2 separate regions of the Homo sapiens genome follow, and region 1 is linked to region 2. Evidence: promoter capture Hi-C in 16 types of primary human blood cells and fetal thymus (Javierre and others, 2016). All regions are on one chromosome and are shown on one strand. Each heading gives the region's core, a stretch centred on a gene start or on the middle of the fragment in contact. The rest is flanking DNA. Distances are from core to core; before and after follow the strand shown. Region 1 overlaps KCNK16 (potassium two pore domain channel subfamily K member 16). Region 2 holds the start of KCNK5 (potassium two pore domain channel subfamily K member 5).

Evidence for each region. Contacts are between HindIII fragments. The CHiCAGO score rates a contact against its expected background, and 5 or more counts as called.
Region 1: a fragment that was not itself captured here is called in contact with the fragment with the promoter of KCNK5 in region 2 in 1 of 17 cell types (megakaryocytes); the score reaches 5.1 in megakaryocytes.

What each region holds. Positions count from the first base shown.
Region 1 is chr6:39,315,770-39,318,469 of GRCh38, forward strand. It overlaps KCNK16 (potassium two pore domain channel subfamily K member 16), which reads right to left. Exons shown (of 5, transcript NM_001135106.2): 3 at 2,017-2,183; 4 at 1,013-1,178; 5 at 402-673. The coding sequence ends at 450. The region is part of intron 1 of LOC105375047 (a long non-coding RNA gene); the gene reads left to right. Among named protein-coding and RNA genes, the nearest start is that of KCNK17, 2.7 kb to the left of the region's middle. The HindIII fragment of the contact is 3,058 bases long and covers 1-2,700 here.
Region 2 is chr6:39,228,048-39,230,747 of GRCh38, forward strand. It overlaps KCNK5 (potassium two pore domain channel subfamily K member 5), which reads right to left and starts at 1,428. Exons shown (of 5, transcript NM_003740.4): 1 at 879-1,428. The coding sequence starts at 1,064. RefSeq lists silencers at 106-175, 1,189-1,268, 1,369-1,718 and an enhancer at 2,006-2,700. The HindIII fragment of the contact is 7,595 bases long and covers 1-2,700 here.

The DNA.
Region 1 (2,700 bases), core at 1-2,500, 88 kb after region 2:
GGCAGGCACTTCCACTGCTGTATCCCCAGACCCTGGCACAGACCCTGGCACAGCACCTGGCACATAGTAGGGGCTTGGCAAATGCACTGTGCACATATCAAATGAGGCAAAAGTAAAGTCATCCTTTGTTTGTGTAAGGTCTCCTGGAAGGGGGCATGGGGAGGGCAGTGGAGATCTGGCCACTACCTTTGGGTGGAAGGCTGTGGCAGGGGCTCTGGGACAAGGGTACACCTCCCCATCCACACATGTCTTTAATCCTATCTCACGTCTCCTCTCTGTTACTTTCTTGGATATACCTGTCTCCTTTCTCTCTTGGGAGAGCTCCTGAGACCAGCCCTGGCTGAGAAGTGAGGGGGTTGGGAGAGGAGAAAGCAGGGCTGGAAATCCAGAGAGCAGATAGGGTGGGACTGGGGAGGATGAAAGGGGTTTCTGGGCCCCCCCCGGGGGCCTCATGCAGAGATGGGGATCTTCTGAGGCCTGGGGAGCCCACTGGGGTCAGAGGCTGCCCCATCCTTGACGCCGAGGCCCCTACTGAGCAGCCAGAGCTGGCAGCATCTGTGCAGAAGCAGGGGGCCCAGTGGGAGGATCAGCGCCAGCCACGCCAGGCCCAGGAGGATCCAGATGGCTGCCAGGCTCCGATACACTGAGATATAATGCTTGCTGGGGTCTGTGCCTGCCAGGGAAGGGAATGGCATCAATGCCAGGGGTCTCAGGGCATAGCCACCTCCAGTTTCCATAGGGACCCTCACCAGCCAGGATGCTCTCTCCCTCTTCCTCATAACAAGGAACAGCAGTTGAGGTAGGTCTCTGCAGGGTGGTGATGGGTCCTAGACCAGAAACTTCTGAGAATGTTGCTTAGAATCCACAGTAGTCCCAGAAATCATTGGTTTGGCTCCCTTGAATGACCAAGGGCTATCTTATCCTCAATAGTTGTCCTCAGCTGACATCTCTCCATCCCCCAAATCCCAGTGGGCACCCCCACCCTGAGATAATGTGACTGTTTTGTTCTCACCAACAACATAGTCCCCAAAGCCAATGGTGCTGAGAGTGATGAAAGCAAAGTAGAAGCCCTCGCTGAAGCTCCAGCCCTCCACATGGCTGAAGACCATGGGTGGGAAGATGAGAATGACCAGCGTCCCCAGGGTCAGGAACAGAGCCAGGCCCAGGACTTGCAGTACCTAGGAGGGAGGGAGTTGGCCTCTGAGTCCACTTGAAAGTCTCCAGGATTGTATGAGGTTGGGGGGAGTCTGGGGTAAACATGGGAATGGGACTGGGCCATAGCTAGGACCCTTTCCTGCACTGCAGACCCTCGAGGTGGAGGTTGTATCTATGTGTGCATGACCTTGTCCCACCCAGGGAAAGATTTCGGCAGAGGGATTGCGTTAGTGGGTCAAGAAGCGATTTGGAGACCCCTTTGGACTTGGGGATCACACTTGAACAGGCTCCCTGGGGACTCAGATCTGGAACAGAAAAGTATCATTGAACTGTCTGCGTATTTCTGGCCTTGCAAGTGGCTGGCCAAGGGTGGGCACTGAGGGCATGCTGGGCAGCCTGCAGAGCTTGTTTGCTACTGCACAAAAGGATGTTGGAGTTCTGTGATGACCTTGAAGATGTGCTACAGAGATCCCTCACTTAAAGGAGGACGGTGGGCCAGCTGCCAGCTCCTTCAGGGTGTTCAGCTGCAGAGAACCTCCTGGCCTAGGGGCATACCCTTCCTGGGAAGGCCACACCCAGTGCCTGATTGAGGCAGGTATGAAAACCTGGCTGGTTCCGCCCACTGTGGGACAACTCTGACAGCTCTCACATGCTGTAGAGCTCCTTGGGGCCAAGCCTTTGTAGAGCATGCATAGAGATCCAACTCCCCACTCTGCCCAACCCTGCCTTCACCCTTCCTCTTTCACAGGCATCTACCCCTAACACCATGCATGCCAAACTCCATCTCAGCATCGGCTTCTGGGGAACTCCACTTGCAACAGATCTGTCACAGCAGGCCTGTAAGGGAGTTAGGGGGCATACCTGGGAGCGCCTGGGACGGTCCTCCCATCTTTCAATGGCGGCCAGATGGGCACGCAGCCCTGTGCCCAGGTGGTTGAGGAAGATCACGTTAAGCGGGATGCCCAACAGGGCATAGAAGACACAGAAGACCTGACCTGCCTCTGTGCTGGGTGCCAGGTTCCCATATCCTGCAAGGGAAGGGGGGCGTGTGCAAATATGGAGACTCTAGAACGCCCTCTGCTCCTCTTCCCCAGACTCTAGCTGAGGTTTGTCTGTCACCACCTCTGGGGGTGAGAAGGGGAAGCTCCCCTGTTCCCATGAACTCTGCTGGAATGATTTTTATTTATAGGACTCCTGCTCATCTTTGAAGGCCCATCTCAAATGACTCTGCCTCCATGAAGCCCTCCTGACTGCCGATTTCCTTCTCCCTTCTGGGTGTGGTTCCCCATAGTGTTTTATGTCATTGCTATGTAATTATCGACTTTGTTTTCTATTACTTTTTTTTGTGTATTTATCATGTTCCTCTTTGTTGGACTGGAAGTTCCTTGCAGGCTGAGCCTGGGTCTGATCCAAGTTTGTATCTCTCACCCCCAACTCCATCACTCTGCCTGGAATGTCACCTGAGTTCAAGGAAAGTATGTGGAATTGGACTTAACTGAATGGATGGGGTAGACCTGGATCTGATGGTTTCCTTGGGGTGGGATG
Region 2 (2,700 bases), core at 178-2,677:
CCAAATGGGCCCCAAGGTCTCAGCCAGGATAGGCAGCCCGTTTATCCAAAGTGAGGTCAATGCCACCCATCGGGCTGTGCACCAGAAAATAAGCGGTTCCCAATGTCAGCACGGAGGGAAGTCCCCCACCCACCCCAATTCCGCACACACTCTCCTCCCCCATCATAAAGGGACTACGCGGGTATTATTCGTTTGTGCAACCTGCTACTTTCACAAAGTTTTACTCCAAGCCCTTGAAGGATGTCTCCGCGAGATAAGCCTTCCCGGAAGCCTGAGCGCGTCCCCAGCATTCCAGGCACCAGCCCTCATCCCGTGGGTTCGGGCCCCACAGAGCCTCCAGCTCCTCTCCGGAACTCTGCTGGGGGCGGAAGATTTTGCCCAGGCTCGGGCTGAGGGACCCTCCCGCCACTCTGCCGGGTTCACGTTCCTTAAGAAAAGCCTGGCAGGCGTGGCACTGGCCCTGGAGCGGGGAGGTGGAGACACGAGGGGATGGCACCAGGCTTGGCTCCCAGACTCCGGGAGCGTCTCCAGGGAAAGATAAACGCCTTTATCCGTCCCACAGCCTCTTCCCAAGGAGGGAGGTACCGTCACACCCACACTGAAACACCGTGGAGCCTAGTTCACCCGGGAATCAACTCCAATTTGTCTCCGGCCAAACTAAGTTCCAAAGAGTCTCCGCGCCTGGGGGACCCCTGTGTCCCTCGGGTGAGCGACAGATCCTCGAAGCCTGACCCATGATGAGACACGCTCTCTCATCACCCCCTGGACCTTCCACAGGGACTGAGGGTCACCCAAAGCTGTGAAGGGGTCTTCCTTTCAGCGCCCCCTAAAGCTCAAGCCAGCTTCAGATGTATATGGGGGTACAGGCGGCGACTGACCTCTAGGATCTTGTCCAGGCCCTCCTGACCCAGGCACGGGAACTCCTTGAGCAGATGCAGCTTCTGTGTGTAGTAGTTTTTCTTGGCCTCCTTCCAGTGTGGCTCCTCCAGCACTTCGAAGATCGCCGCCCCGATGGCCAGGTAGAAGATGATGGCCGAGGTGAGCAGAGGGCCCCGGTCCACCATGGCTCCCGAGCGGCCGCCTCCTAGAGAAAGCCTCTCCTAGCCCCAGCTGCTACCAGTCCGCCCGCCCTCCAGCCTCTGAAAACAGCTGTTTGAATTTGGAGCTCCGCATGCGCAGTGCCCGGTACTCACCCCCCGCAAGCACCGCTCCCCGGACAGAGTTGCTTGGCCAAGTTGGCCCACGGAGTGCGGGGAGCTGCGTGGGGCCCCACTCACGCGGCCCGGGGTGGGCGAACACCAGCGGGGCTGAAAGGGCGCCCTGGACCGCGGATGCGTAAGGAGCGGGAAGAACACAGGACTTGACTCTGGGCAGACACGTGGGCCGCTTCTCCACGCGTCGCTCCTCCGCGCGCCACTAGCAGTATGCGCCGCGCCCGCCTCCGCACGCCTCTTTAACCAGCGCCCGGCGCGCTCTGCCCCCTTGCTCCGGGCTCCGACCGGGGAGGAGCCCAGGCGGGCCCCGCCCCTTCCCCGCACAAGCAGCCCGGCGAGCGCAGGAGTGAGCGCGAGGTGAGCGCTAGAAGAGGCTTGGCGCTCCCCGCGCTCCCAGGGTCAGCCGCCAGGGGAGGCTGCGCCGCCCGCCCAGACCTGCACGCCCTGCGGTGCCCGAGGGGTTGCGGTCTCAGGGACTCGTGTTTGTTATTAGGACTGGCGTGTTAACTAAAATGATTGTGACTGAGGTCAGGAGTTTATTGCTTTTGTTATTTTTATTGTAATTCCATTTTCATTTACTGATGTTTCTTCCAAAAAAGTCTAATGCTCAGTCTCTCCGTGTCTCTCTTCCACACACTTTCTTGTAAGCCTGAGGAAGGGGGTTAGAACGGGGCTGAAGAAGCTGTAGGGAATCAGAGGACATCAGGAACTAATCCAGCCACCCACGCGTGATTCCTCCCCCTCACCCCGTTCTCACCTACCCGGGTGAGAACCCTGCATCTGGAAGGAGTGGGCAGCTCAATTCGTGGCACCCCTGTGCGCCCCCCCAATACACAGTATCTCTACGGGAAACACTTGGCCTCTTTTCTTTTTTTCTTTTCTCTTTTCTTTTCTCTTCTCCTTTCCTCTCCTTTCCTCTTTTCTTTCAGACGGAGTCTCACTCTGTCGCCAGGCTGGAGTGCAGTGGCACTATCTCGGCTCACTGCAACCCCCGCCTCCCGAGTTCAAGCAGTTCTTCTGCCTCAGCCTCTCAAGAAGCTGGGACTACAGGCGCACGCCATCACGCCCAGCTAATTTTTGTATTTTTAGTAGAGACGGGGTTTCACCGTGTTGGCCAGGCTGGTCTCAATTCCTGACCTCAGGTGATCCGCCCGCCTCAGCCTCCCAAAGTGCTGGGATTACAGGCGTGAGCCACCGCGCCCGGCCCACTTTCATACATATGCTCCAGCTGATTTAAAATTCCACCCCCGCCACCTTATCTCCCTCGTTGGCTTTATGTCCTTCCTAGTACTAAATTCCCTCTGCTATATTATATAACTTTATTTATTGTTTACTCTGTATTGTGCCCTCTCCCCGCCACACACACACAGACACACACACACACACACACACACACACACACACACGGAAATGTCTGCTGGGGAGATGGAGAATCTGTCTTGTGTAATGATGTATCCACAGTGCTTGTTACATACATAGCAGACAC